Regions from separate parts of the Homo sapiens genome. Here regions 1 and 3 are each linked to region 2. Evidence: promoter capture Hi-C in 16 types of primary human blood cells and fetal thymus (Javierre and others, 2016). All regions are on one chromosome and are shown on one strand. The core of a region is centred on a gene start or on the middle of the fragment in contact, and the rest is flanking DNA. Distances in the headings are between cores, read along the strand shown.

The links. The method cuts DNA at HindIII sites, captures the fragments that hold promoters and counts their contacts. A CHiCAGO score of 5 or more calls a contact.
Region 1: a fragment that was not itself captured here is called in contact with the fragment with the promoter of TTI2 in region 2 in 1 of 17 cell types (activated CD4 T cells); the score reaches 5.4 in activated CD4 T cells.
Region 3: a contact is called between a fragment that was not itself captured here and the fragment with the promoter of TTI2 in region 2, in 1 of 17 cell types (naive CD8 T cells). The highest score is 7.5, in naive CD8 T cells.

The regions. Positions count from the first base shown.
Region 1 is chr8:28,620,589-28,625,249 of GRCh38, reverse strand. It overlaps a transcript of EXTL3 not described here. Among named protein-coding and RNA genes, the nearest start is that of EXTL3-AS1, 79 kb to the left of the region's middle. RefSeq lists silencers at 2,493-2,752, 2,674-3,110. The HindIII fragment of the contact is 1,685 bases long and covers 1,372-3,056 here.
Region 2 is chr8:33,510,201-33,514,923 of GRCh38, reverse strand. It overlaps TTI2 (TELO2 interacting protein 2), which reads left to right and starts at 1,789. Exons shown (of 8, transcript NM_001102401.4): 1 at 1,789-1,842; 2 at 2,212-2,957. The coding sequence starts at 2,311. SNORD13 (small nucleolar RNA, C/D box 13) reads right to left here and starts at 1,449; the gene lies at 1,346-1,449. RefSeq lists enhancers at 1-97, 1,618-1,757 and a silencer at 1,138-1,187. The HindIII fragment of the contact is 19,476 bases long and covers 1-4,723 here.
Region 3 is chr8:37,744,656-37,749,294 of GRCh38, reverse strand. ERLIN2 (ER lipid raft associated 2) reads right to left here. Exons shown (of 12, transcript NM_007175.8): 6 at 4,599-4,639. It also overlaps the pseudogene LOC728024. Among named protein-coding and RNA genes, the nearest start is that of ERLIN2, 10 kb to the right of the region's middle. The HindIII fragment of the contact is 1,737 bases long and covers 767-2,503 here.

The DNA.
Region 1 (4,661 bases), core at 965-3,464, 4.9 Mb after region 2:
ACACAGCCTCCATTTATAGATCCTATGTGCAGTGTTTTCACTAGGAGTGAGCTAAAGCTATGAGTCCAGTCTTGCACTTAGTAGGTAAATAATCTGCAGAAAAAATGAGTAATTGGTGAGTCACTCACCTGTTTGAGTTAACTCCTCTAAGTGCCGGTCTGTAACTGCGGGTCAGTTTTTAAAGTTTACCTCCTTTAGAAGCAAAAAGTATGCCAGCTGTGCCTTTTTGGAAGCATACAGGCATTGGAAGATTGTAAAAAACAGTGGGTCATTTTTTAAATTAACCTAACGTGTGTGTATTCACAGTTGATGCTGGAGATACTTGATCTGCTTATTTTTTTAGTTAGCCCATGAATTTGTATTTAAATTTCTTGATCTGAGTGTCAGTGTCTTTCCATAGGAATCACTTGAGGGTTTGGGTTTACTGATGTTTGCAAACCACTGTGCAAAGTTATTGTCTGAATTTAACATGTTTTTAAACTTCCTTTTAAGCTTCAGATGGTGCCTTCTAGTTCTTATGGTGTCGGTGACTATTAATAACTAGATTTTGGTTTTATCTTTTGGGTTTATTGTCCCTCCAGGGAAGTCAAAATGGTAATCACTAACATATACTAATTTTTTCTTGTTTTTAATCTTTTAAAGATTTGTTTCTTTTTACTCACAATTACAAAATGATTTTTATTTTTTGAGACAGGGTCTCACTCTGTCACCCAGGCTGGGGTGCAGTGGGGTGGTCTCAGTTCACTGCAACCTCTGCCTCCCAGGATCAAGTGATCCTCCCACCTCAGCCTACCAAGTAGCTGAGACCACAGGTGCTCACTACCATGCCGGCTAATTTTTTCATTTTTTGTAGACATGAGGTTTCGCCATGTTGCCCAGCATGGTCTTGAACTCTTGAGCTCAAGCAATCCTCCCACCTCGGCCTCCGGATGTTCTAGGATTACAGGTGTGAGCCACCACACCCGGCCTCACAATGCTTTTAAATGAATATTAACGTGAGATGTGGAATATTGTATGTAATAGGCAATTCATAATTTCACATTTTGAAAAAGAACTGATAATTCCAGAGCAAAGTACTCAGAGTTTGTTAAGGACCAGCAGGAATTTCTGCTTAACAAAATATTTAGAATCCCAACAACTCTGAGACTTATCTCCTTTCCCTGGGGATAGGTAAGGTGAGAACAATTGGAAAGAATTTTCTTCAGTTCTGGGGATGAGGAGAATTTTCTTATTATCTCAAGTCAACAGGTATGACTGTCTAGCAAAAAAGGAATGTGAGTTCATTGCTAGCATTTTAGACTTGGAATGAACAATAAATATAATATTAATAGTTCAACCTTCTCAGAGGCAGAAACGTTTTAAAACCAAGCTTGCCTGATTTCCCATCTGCTGCCTTTTACGAGCAGCAAATTTGTTAAGGAGGATCATGTTTACCTGATGAATATCTTTCAGTTTTCCTAATTATAACCTTTATTACTAAATGCCTAAAGGAGTTCACAAGTAAAATCAACCAATTCGTATTTATGGGAATGAAAATATAGGGGGAAGGTTTTAAATAAAAACATATCTTTAAAAACATGAATTATGTTACATGGGGGATAAGGATCAAAAGACACACGTGCTTTGCCAAGCCTTGAAAAGTAGGCAAAGATGGGGTCTAGACTTTCAGCATGGAGCCTTCAGGACAGGACATGCTTACCAAGGGGTGAGACTGAACGGATGGAGCCCTGCAGGGTGACCCAGAAACAGGCTGAGGACAAACACCAACAAAACTCAGCATTCCGAGCGCCCCCTATTCCCGGGCTTCCAATCTGCCAAACTTAACTTTTGAAAAGCTCAAATTGTGGGATCCCAAATTAAAGTCAGCTGTGCTGAGGGGCTCGCAGGTACGGCTGGCTTTGGGGTCCGCATTCTGTGGTGTCCTCTGGGGTAGGTGTGTTTGGGGCTGCAGGGACTGGAGGGCACCCACGGCACGGGCTTACCCACGGGGACAGCGCCTCCTGACAGCGCGCGAGGCGGGCGCGTGGCAGATGCCGCTTACCCCGTACCCGAGGCAGCAGGGGTCGGGACCCCCGCCCACAGTGTGATACGGACCCCTGCCGACAGCCACACTCTCCCAGTTCTCACAAATTCCCGCCTCTGTAGAAACCCAGCCCAGCCCACCCCGGAGTTCACGTCCACACTCCGAGGCAGGGGACATGGACCGCGAGCTTGCAATCGCCCGCCCCAGACGCCCAGAGCAGGCGCCCCACGTCCGGCCCGCGGGCAGGACGACGGGGCCAGACAAAGAGTTTTAAAATCGATCCCCCGGGTAAAGCCCGGGCTACAGCGAGAAGTGCGAAGCCGTCTCTAAATTTTAGCAGCTCGCCGCTTCTCCCGTTGGCACGACGAAGAAAAGACTTCCCACCCCCGAAAGGGAAGATCCCGAAGAGCCCCTACCTCGCTGCAGCGCCAGGTCCCGCGGTCTCCAGCGGCGGCCACTGCAGCCGGCGACAGCGCCAGCGGCCCGGCCCCGCCCTCTCCACGGTCCCGCCCCCTGAGGCCCCGCCCTCGGCTCACCGCATCCCCGGCCCGGCCGGCCGGCTCCCGGTCCCACCCACTGCCCCCTGGGAGGCTCCCGGCTCCGCCCCCCGAATACCCCGCCCACCGCCCCCTCGGCGGCTCCCGGCCCCGCCCCCTAACGCCCCGCCCACCGCCTCCGCGTCGGCTCCCGGCCCTTTCCTCGGAGGCCCCGCCCTCGCCGGCTCCCGGGCCCGCCTTCTCGCGGCCCCGCAGCTGGGTTCAAGACTGTCGTGCAGGCCCCAGAGCCCGGTGCATTGTGGGACGCCGCAGCCAATGCCGAGCCTGCGCTGCCTCCTGGCGGGCGCCGCTGCAACAACACCAGCACCCGGCTGCACACGGCGGAGGGCTATACGGCACCGGGCGCCTAGCGCAGAGGGCGCCGGTCGCTGGGGTCCGGTAAAACATGAAAATGAGCCGGATGCTTAGAGTGCGGGGCTACCTCCCGCTTAGCGACATAAGGAAACGCGAAAACAGCGTTAAGACTAGGGCAAGCTTTCGAAACTAGGGAAAATCATTACAAAGGATCAAACGAAATGACGTCAAGGGGAGGGAGAAACCTGCACGCGTCGTTTTTATTTCTGGGGAAACCACAGGTCAGCTCAGTCTAGAGAAGAACGGGGTTCTGTGTGACAGGGGCTAAAATTGGAATCCAGAACTCTTCCCGTACATGCCCCGAGGAAAAAGTTTAAATGCAGTTAAAAAATAAATTACACAAAAATGTAGTGAAAAATGAGAATATAACAAATGACTAGTAAGTCGCTATTTAAATAAGAATATGAACATTGTCACTACGTGGAAATATTTCTGTCATGCGATGTTAAGTGACAAACACACACAAGACAGCACGTGGCCAGTGATTTCAACTGTGGCAAATCTGCGTGTCCACAAACAGAAGAAGCAGCTTCCAAGTAGCTTAGAGTTTAATGCGTCTTAAGGTTCTTTATTTTTATTAGATCAGTTTTTAACGTTTCTGAGTGGTTGGGACTAATCCTAATTGTGGATGGCATTGCAATATTTCAGTTTTCCCTCACTGTAAGTAATAATTATAAAAAGTGATCCAGGAAGAAAACATTCTGAGGCGTTAGGGAACTATGACAATTTTGCTTGTCTGCAAACCCTGGTGGGGCACAAATGGAAAAGTACATTTAGCAGGGAGTGTATTGGTTAGCTAGCGCTGCTGTCAGAAAGTGCCATAAGCTAGGGGGCTAAATCAGCAGACGTGTGCTGTCTCACAGTCCTGGACGCTGGAAGCCTGTGTTCAAGGTGTGGGCAGTGTTGGTTCCAGTTCTGATGACTGTGAGGAAAGATTGTTTCAGGCCTCTCTCCTGGGTTGTAGATGGCCAGCTTCATGTACACGTGGCATTTTTCCTGTGTCCAAATATATCCCCCTTTTATAAGAACACCAGTCATATTAGATTTGGGGCCCACCCTACCCTACTCCAGCATGCCCTCATCTTAACTAATTACATCTGCAATCATCTGATTTCCAAATAAGGTCATATTCTGAGGTACTGGGGCTTAGGACTTCAGCCTGTCAGTGGGGAAGGAGGGGGACAATTCAGTGCACACCTGGAGATTCAAAGTGTAATCTTTGGAAAATCACACACACTGAATGACAAAAACAATCATAATTAACAGTAATGTACATGATCTTAAATGTATCAAAAAGCCAACAATGGGCACTGTGGCTCACATCTGAAATCCCAGCACTTTGGGAGGCTGAGAGGGGAGGATCGCTTGAGCTCAGAAGTTAGAGACCAGCCTGGGCAAGATAGCCAGACCCAGTCTCTACAAAAATAAGCAAGTTATCCAGGCATGATGGTGCCCACCATAGCCCCAGCTACTTAGTAGGCTGAGGCAGGAGGATCACTTGAGCCTAGGAGTTCAGGGCTGCAGTGAGCTAATGATTACATCACTGTACTACAGGCTGAGTGATAGAGTGAGACCCTATCTCTTAAAAAAAAGAAAAGAAAACAAAAGAAAAGCTAAACGGTTAAATATAGTCAAACCAAATTGATTACAGTGTTTTTGTTTCTGTTTAACACCTTTCTGGCCTTTCCAGTTTAACTGCGAGATGTTAATGAGCTAAGACAGCCTAG
Region 2 (4,723 bases), core at 540-3,039:
CCCCGAAGGGCTTTCTCTGGACTCCTGGAACCCTGGAGGCGCAATTGACGCCTTAGAGGCTGAATAAGAGTCCCTCTCCGAGCAGCTGGCGACACGTCTCTCTCGCGCCACCCCTCCCAGGGTCCGAAGCTCCCGCCTGTGCAGTGGCACAAATGAAGTTTGCCTCCTCGGGCTCCTGCGAAACCGTGGAAGCTATGAGAGTCACAAGGTCCTAAATGGAAGCAGCTCCTCGGGAACTGAAGGCCAATCGGACGCAATTCTACCCTCCAGGAAAGCGCAGGAAGAGGGAACAAGCAATGCCGACGCGGCGTGGGGGACCCAACACAGGGCGGTCGCACAGGCGCGACCCTTCTCGCGCCTTCTCAAAACCCAAGCAAACACCACTGGTTCCTACACCCGCCGAGCCCGAGTCTGCAGCCTCCAGCTCCCCTGGCCCGTTCCGGGCGCCGCCTGCGACCCATGCCCAAGACAGCGCTCTGCTGTCCCTGCGCACCCGGCGCCGACACTGGCGGGGCGGGCCCAAGCCGGATCCGCCAACCCGACGACCCACCTCCCTCAGGGCTGCCCCAGACGCCAGCTGGGGGCTTCTACCTTGACGCTAGAATTTGAATTTTCAAACGCTTGTGGCTACAGGCTTTAAAACGCTAGCTCCAGAAACCAGCTAAAGTATTGCATTGAACAGAAAACCAAATACCGCATGCTCTCATTCATAAGTGGGAGCTAAACATTAGGAACACGTGGACATAAAAGTGGCAACAACAGACACTGTGGTCTACTAGAGGGGGCAATGAAAACGGGCTAAGCTGCACTCCAAATCCCAGCATCCCACAACATATCCAGGTAACAAACCTGCGCAGGTATCTCCCAAACCTAAAAAATTAAAGCCATTAAAAAGCTCTGCATTGGCCAGGCGCGGTGGCTCACGCCTGTAATCCCAGCCCTTTGGGAGGCCGAGGCGGGCGCATCACGAGGTCAAGAGATCGAGACCATCCTTGCCAATATTTATACAAAAATTAGCTGGGCGTGGTGGCGCGCGCCTATAGTCCCAGCTACTCGGGAGGCTGAGGTAGGACAATCTCTCGAAAACCGGAGGTGGGGGTTGCAGTGAGCCGAGATCGCAACACTGCAACTCCAGCCTGGCGACAACGCGAGACTCCGACTCACAAAAGAACAAACACAAAAACACATTACACAGTTGGACAACGGAAAAGCACCCGTGCGTGTAGCATACAGCCAGAAAAAAGGGCACCCGAAAACGGTAAACACAAAGCCATGAAACTAGGCCACCTGTTATCATAAGTAACAAGCCCACAAATACAAGTGTTAAATCGATCCTTGAAGTTCAGGTCAGACGGGTAATGTGCCCACGTCGTAACAAGGTTCAAGGGTGGCACATCTCACACAAGCGTATGAACACCCAATCATCACGCTCATGAACTACAAAAGGATCATCTTATAGTTGACATTAAGGAGTGCCAAGTATGTGCCACTAATTTACACATAGGGTGACTACCGTAATGCGATACATCCATTCTTCACGTATAAAATCCTGGATATTTTCAAAGTCCCACTGAGATTCTGTGATTATTCTTTTGTTTCTACCTTAGCAAAGGAAAACAGAAACACAATTAGCGAGCGGATTATTATATATGCAAATTTATTCTCTATAGTTCCACCTCTCCGTCATTTTCCCGAGCCTGGATCTTTATTGCTTTACGACCATACGTCGTGAAATAAGAAGGTGTTGCGGCAGTACTGGCGGAAGCTAGCCTTGCGTTTTGCGGCAGCAATATGAGCTAGGTCCGGATCCTGTTAGACACCGGCGGGCGCGAGCCGTTGCAGGTACCTGGGGGTGGTTAAGTTGGTGACATGGCTCAGAAGTTTATTTCTTTAAATTTTTAAGTTTTTTTTCTTTTTAGTCTTCAGAAAGGCAACAGTAGTCTTTTAACGTCACTGTTAAAAGTGTAAGACTCTTTTACTCCCTGAGAGTCCCCTTTCCCTTTCTTGCGTCCTTTCCTCTTTATTCTTTTTTTTTTTTTTTTTTTTACTGAGACGGAGTCTCACTCTGTCGCCCAGGCTGGAGTGCAGTGGCGCGATCTCGGCTCACTGCAAACTCCGCCTCCCGGGTTCACCCTTTCTCTTTATTCTTATCCCGGTCAGACTCGCCCCCTCCTCCAAGACATCTCTCTGTTTTATTTTATTTGATTTTAGTTCTCTTTGGGTGATCGCTCCTTCCCTCTTCAACGGATCCCTCCCCGCCTCCATCCTCGTTCTGTGGGAGAGACCAGCCTTCTGGTGCTGCAGTCAGGAATGGAGCTTGACAGCGCTCTGGAAGCCCCATCGCAGGAAGACTCTAATTTGTCCGAGGAGTTGTCTCACTCCGCCTTTGGACAGGCCTTCTCCAAGATTTTACACTGTCTTGCCCGCCCGGAGGCACGACGAGGCAATGTAAAAGATGCAGTTCTTAAAGACCTCGGTGATCTAATAGAAGCCACAGAATTTGATAGGTTATTTGAGGGGACTGGTGCACGGCTCCGCGGAATGCCGGAGACACTGGGGCAGGTAGCAAAAGCCCTGGAGAAGTATGCAGCCCCCTCCAAGGAGGAGGAAGGTGGAGGTGATGGGCACTCCGAAGCGGCCGAGAAAGCAGCCCAAGTTGGGTTACTGTTTCTTAAACTGTTAGGGAAAGTTGAGACTGCTAAGAATTCCCTGGTCGGCCCTGCATGGCAGACGGGCCTGCATCACTTGGCAGGACCCGTTTATATTTTTGCCATCACACACAGCTTGGAGCAACCATGGACCACTCCGAGATCTCGGGAAGTTGCTAGGGAGGTGCTCACCTCACTGCTTCAAGTTACTGAATGCGGTTCTGTGGCAGGATTCCTACATGGAGAAAATGAAGATGAGAAAGGGAGACTTTCGGTGATACTAGGGCTTCTCAAACCCGACTTGTATAAGTGAGTACTCCTGCCCTTTGCCACCGACTTGAGCCTCACAGTTTTTTATTTTTATTTTTTATTATTTATTTATTTTCGAGACAGAGTTTCACTCTTGTTGCCCAGGGTGGAGTGCAATGTTGCGATCTCAGCTCACTGCAACCTCCGCCTCCTGGGTTCAAGCGATTCTCCTGTGTCAGCCTTCGGAGTAGCTGGGATTACAGTTGCCCGTCACCACGCCTGGCTGATTTTTTGTATTTTTAGTAGAGACGGGGTTTCACCATGTTGGCCAGGCTGGTCTTGAACTCTTGACCTCAAGTGATCCACCCGCCTCGGGCTCCCAAAATGCTGGGATTACAGGCGTGAGCCACTGCGCCTGCCCTAGCTTAATTTTTTATAGCGTTATACCTCAAAGGAAGCTCAATTTCTTCAGCAGTAAAATAAGGGTGCTGTAACCACGGATCTCTTAAGGCCCAGAAACGTTGTGATTTGCTATAAATGACATAACTGGATAGTGGCAAATTGGAGGTCATAACTGAGATGTTCGGGCTCAGTTGTCCAATGCTCTTTCCAGCCCTTAGGACGACTGCCTAGGAAAATTGGAAATTCTGTCCCACTTACTTGGAGTTAATAATTACAAAATGTGGCCGGGCGAGGTGGCTCACTCCTGTAGTCCCAGCACTTTGGGAGGCCGAGGCGGGTGGATCACTTAAGGTCAGGAGTTCGAGACCAGCCTGGCCAACATTGTGAAACCCCATCTCTACTAAAAATACAAAAATTAGCTGGGCATGGTGGTGGACGCCTGTAATCCAAACTACTCGGGAGGCTGAGGCAGTAGAATCGCTTGAAACCAGGAGGCAGAGATTGCAGTGAGCTGAGATCGGGCCACTGCACTCCAATCTGGGCAACAGAGCAAGACATCGTCTCAAAAAAAATTACAAATTACTAGAATTTGGATGGGGGATTTAGAGAGGATTTAAACTTATGGTTTGAATTTAGACTTGGGGATCTTGAATCTCATTACTGCTTGTTAGAGAAGGATGACTATCAGCTAAGAAAGCCATGTTTAGGATAAAAAGTGAAAAGCACCTTTAGATTACTGTTAGCTGAAGTTCTTTCAATGAGTTTCCACTTGCTACTTTGTTAGCACTGGAGTAATGAGAGAAAAAGTATCTGTAACTGTCATTTTACCAGGAACACGGAATTAAAAGGCTTGATTTTGAGTTTCGTGCTTCTATTTGTTGCTCTGAGTAGGACCAGATTAGACAGTTATCTGAATCTGTTTGTTTCTAATATAAAGATAATATACTTGGCGGAGTGTGGTGGCTGACACCTGTAATCCCAGTACTTTGGGAGGCCAAGGCTGTCAGATCACTTGAGGCCAGGAATTCAGGACCAGCCTGGGCAACATGGTGAAACCCCGTCTCTACTACAAATATAAAAATTATCCGGGTATGGTGGTGCAAGTGTGTAATCCCATCTACTCGGGAGGCTGAAGCAGGAGAATCGCTTGAGCCTGGGAGGCGGAGGTTGCAGTGAACCCAGATGGTGCCACTGCACTCCAGCCTGGGCAATAGAGTGAGACTCTATTTCAAAATAAATATAATGTACCTATTACACAGTAATTATTTTGAGAATTAGTTAAGTCGTGTGTACACTCACTTTATTAGCGATTAACAGGTGTTCAAGTGTTGATTCATTTGTTTCCTTAGTGTAATACTACTAATCCATTTCCTTTACTCCTCCCTCCCTTCTCAACATACCTTCACCATCCATCACCATAAGTC
Region 3 (4,639 bases), core at 386-2,885, 4.2 Mb before region 2:
ATGCCCTACAGGGGGTGAGAGCTTAAAAAGAAAAAAAAGGAAGAACAAACAATTCTAGCACATTTCTTGCGTGAGGCAGCAGCCTTTCCCTAGACAATAGCAGCAAAAGAGAAGGAAGGTTCACAGTTTCCAAGAAGAAGGAAGGTGGAATGGCTATTTAGGTTTTGTGGAAAGAGCTGAGCACATTAAATCTAGTAATTTTAGAAGTTTCTAAAAGAAAAACAGACTTTGACGTCAAGGAGAGCCCCAAGGAAGACTGTTTCTATTAGGAACTCCATCAAACAACACAAAGGGAAAATTAAAATTTACAGTTCTGGAAGCGAGCCCCAGGCTTTTGATGTGCTGTTTGCTTTGGTCCTGATTTCTTTGTCTGGAATCCACATGAGTTGTTTCACAGACAAATGTAGGAACAGCTGTAACTGACTCTCCCCCCACCTTCCTTTCCAGCTGCAATCTCAGAACAGCAGTACCAAAGCTGACTTCTCTGGCATGGGCTTCTCAGGTTTTAGAATCCTCTTCCTTGCCTTCTGCCCATGATATCCTTGATAAGATCCCGGAGGGGCTTAGAGAAAAAGACAGAGTGAAATCAGGCTGGGACTTGTACACTGCATCTCTCCTTTGCTGTCAGCCGCCATCTGCTTTAAGTGGTCCTTTCGTGGTCACCTGTGCTCAAATAAGAGCCTCTGAGGAAGAGAAAGTCTCCGCTCTTTCACTGATGCCAAAACGGAGGCCCATGAAAGCTGGCTAGTAGCAAAAATAACAAGCTTGTTTAACTGGTGGGCCTTGATTGTTAGGATTTTAAGACAGTAGTATCAGTAAACAAGGGACGGTAACGTTTCCACATATAGGATGTGCTCTCACAAGCCTCTGAGCACCGAAGGAGAAATGCCATCAAGTCGGCACCTCACACCTGCCAGGGGTCAACCAATTTAACAACTAGAACTAAATATTACATTTCATATTTTAAGTAATTTTAAGTAGAATACCAACCAAACTTTAAATGGCCCGTATCCTCCATAAGTTAATAACGTCATTCCTCAGACCAAATTATATCTGTCAAGGTGGAAACCTGTGGCCCTGGGCTAGTAGCTTACCGGAAAAATGTGAAAGAAATACTTTTCAAGTTGTTTTAGTAATATTGATGTTTATATGTTATGGAAATGTTGATAAATGCCATTTAAATTGTATTACTAAGGTAGCCGCAGGGAAAAGGCGCAAGGCGCGCTCGTGACGTCATTTCGGCGCGACCCTCTTCTTTGCGTAGAGTTTTTCAGGTTGCTCCTGGAAACCATGCCGAAAGTAGTGTCTCGGTCAGTAGTCTGCTCTGACACTCGGGACCGGGAGGAATATGACGACGGCGAGAAGCCCCTCCATGTGTACTACTGTTTGTGCGGCCAGGTGGTCCTAGTGCTGGACTGTCAGTTAGAGAAATTGCCCATGAGGCCCCGGGACCGGTCCCGTGTGATTGATGCTGCCAAACATGCCCATAAGTTTTGTAACACAGAAGACGAAGAGACTATGTATCTGCGGAGACCTGAAGGCATTGAACTACAGTACAGAAAGAAATGTGCAAAGTGTGGACTGCTGCTCTTCTACCAATCCCAGCCGAAGAATGCTCCCGTTACCTTCATTGTGGATGGAGCAGTCGTCAAGTTTGGCCAGGGCTTTGGGAAAACGAACATATATACTCAGAAACAAGAGCCTCCTAAGAAGGTGATGATGACCAAACGGACCAAAGACATGGGCAAGTTCAGTTCTGTCACTGTGTCTACCATTGATGAAGAGGAAGAGGAGATTGAGGCTAGGGAAGTTGCTGACTCGTATGCACAGAATGCCAAAGTGATTGAAAAACAGCTGGAGCGCAAAGGCATGAGCAAGAGGCCACTGCAAGAGCTGGCTGAATGGGAAGCCAAGAAAGTGAAAATGAAGGGGACCTTGATTGACAACCAGTTCAAATAACCAGGCTTTTTTTCTGAGCCCTAGACTGGAGGCAAGCATTTAGATCAGGAGACAAAGTAACTTCTTGATTACATAGACTGGTTCCTATTTATATCCCAGCAGAAGGCTTTATGTTGTTTCCCATTGATTCTCCTACATGCAGTGAGGTCTTTAACTGAGTCCATTTGACCTGCTTTCTAGGAGATGGATTTTTCTCTAATTTTTTTTCTGTATTTAGATTTTCTTTACTATTTTTTGTCCATTTGATGCAAACTTCTTCAGCTGTGTAGAAACTTTATGAATAGATAAGTGCTTGAGTGTCTCTGGTCTCTAAAGTGGCTGGTTTTATTCTTTCTTCAAAGTTAATAACATGTTTCAAGATTTTTGGACAAAATATTATGGTACGTCATAGAGAAAAGCAGCGTGAATTATATTTAGGTATAGCAAGTCAGATCCTTTGAAGTGACTCTGTCTCTGTTCTTAGAAGGGTTCTTGGAATTGGTTGTGGTTTGAATCTTTCTACTGTCAGAGGAGACCCACTAAAAACCAGAATCTGCATAAAGCTTTCTTTACTTAACACACTGAAGCTATAGGTGAGCCATCCCATGTCAGACTTTATACTCAAAGAAGGAAAAGCCAAGTTGCAGTGAGCGGGTAAGACAGCTCAGATCCGAATGAAAATGGGGTCTGAATAAGTAACCCAAGGGAGCTGCCCTCTAGTCGGGCAGCTAGTATTGCTTCCTTGCATGGATACATAGGAGGGATACATTATAGATTAATAAATGATAGTGAGATAAACAAAATGATCTGTTGTGTATCTTTTACTTTACATTTGCTATTTACAGAGGAGTGTTGTATACATAGGTATTATTTTATGTCACACTGCTTCAGTGATAACTATATCCATGTGTTTGTATCCATGTTTTTATCCATTCAACTGTATTAAAAGGTGTTGGGACAGGAAAAAAAGTTGTATTACTAAGTACACACAAAGAGGTTCTTCAGGTAAACTTCAAAGTATTAGATAATACTTTAATAACATGGGCAAAGAGGATGCGGCAGAGTAAGAAGTGATGAAAATTATGCAGCTTCATGTTTAAAGTCTGGGCTATAAGAGTCCTGAGAGAAGGAAAGTATAGAAGAACCTTCTGAGTTGAAGGGCCAGGACTAGAGACATGAGCTCCTCCTTTATGGATATGACAGATTCTAAGCCAAGTAGTGCTTGCTAGCAAGACTGAGATGTAAAAATAAAAAAGTTTCAAAGCAAATATATTTCCCCAGCTCCTCCATACAAGCAGCTGTACTTCACTAAGCTACCAAGTTTAGCTGTAAGAAAGTAAGAAGTTTGCTAATGAAAAACAACTTTGTATTTTAATTTCCTCTTCAGGGACATTAGGGATCCTTTGTCTTTTTTCAGTGCTTTGAAATGTTCATGTAATGTCACAAGTCCTAAGACAATGGCTAGAGAAAATTAATATTTTATAAAATTCTATTAGTTTGAGGTTAAAAAGAAAAATCAACGGCAAATTTACCAACTTTTTCTTAAAAGCACAGTGAATCCAAAACAGATAAAAGACTACAAACCCTATAAAATGAATTTAGATTCATTTTCTACTGCAGAAACATTAAAAGTAATTTGGATGATTTCCTAAATCTTAAATGGTGCAAAAGGCGGTTTGCTTAATTATGATTGCTGGCGATGTGGATGAGTCCTCCTGTCTGCTATGAAAAATGTTCTTGCTCAGGGTCCCTTTTATGAAGATTCCTGGGAAAAATCATTTTCCAGTCCTAGTGTCAAGAACAGTTATACTATTGGTTAAAAATTCATTTACTTTTGGCATTGGCTATTAGAGAATTTCTGGCAGTGAGTTTAAACAGAATACTTGACTGCAAACAAGTTATAACAGTTACCCAACTGTGTCCTTCCTTTGCTGCTAAGTCAGGTTGCCTTTACTTTGAAAAAGGTAAAAAGGACAAAACATATCTACTTAGGCACGTGGAATCTTTTTGTTTAAAGTGTTTTTCTATTCGTTGCTACAGGTACAGAGTAAAAAAATAATAATCACAAAGGTTCTGAGAACTGGAAGGAGCTATGGTTCTCATCTCACTTCTAGAATTAACTATGAATCATGTCTTTTTCATCACCCATTCCTGGGGGCCCTCCATTCAGTGTTGCATGGTGAGAAGAATGCTGAAGAGCCAGGAGAGGAAGGCTCCTGTTTCAGCCCCACTACTAATTGGCATCTGGCTCTGTGACTTTCTTGCTTTGGGTCACAGTACCCTCAGCTTAAAATGAGGATGCTGGTCTGGACAATCTCTAAGGTTCTTCTAGAATGGACCTTGTCTTCATTATAGAATGATAGTTTAGGAACAGTGGGAACACATTTCCACTCCAGCCTCTGATTGAGGCCAGAAGTGAATACTCTACTCCACTATGGTCCCTGTGCCCAAAGCTCCAGCCCTCTAAGGATCTTGTTGCATAGCTATCAGCATTCTCCATGAACTCCTTTGTGACCAGCTCCTGAGCACAAGATTCTTTAACATTTCCTGTCCATAAGTGACCATCACACCCTGCAGGCAGCCAGGCTTTAGGCAGTGGAGAGACGCGGGGTTCCAGGAACCCTGCTTAAGCACGGCATGCTCAGGAGAGACTTTCTTACCAAACAGCTCAATGTAGACCTCTTGAAGCGTGTGCACACTG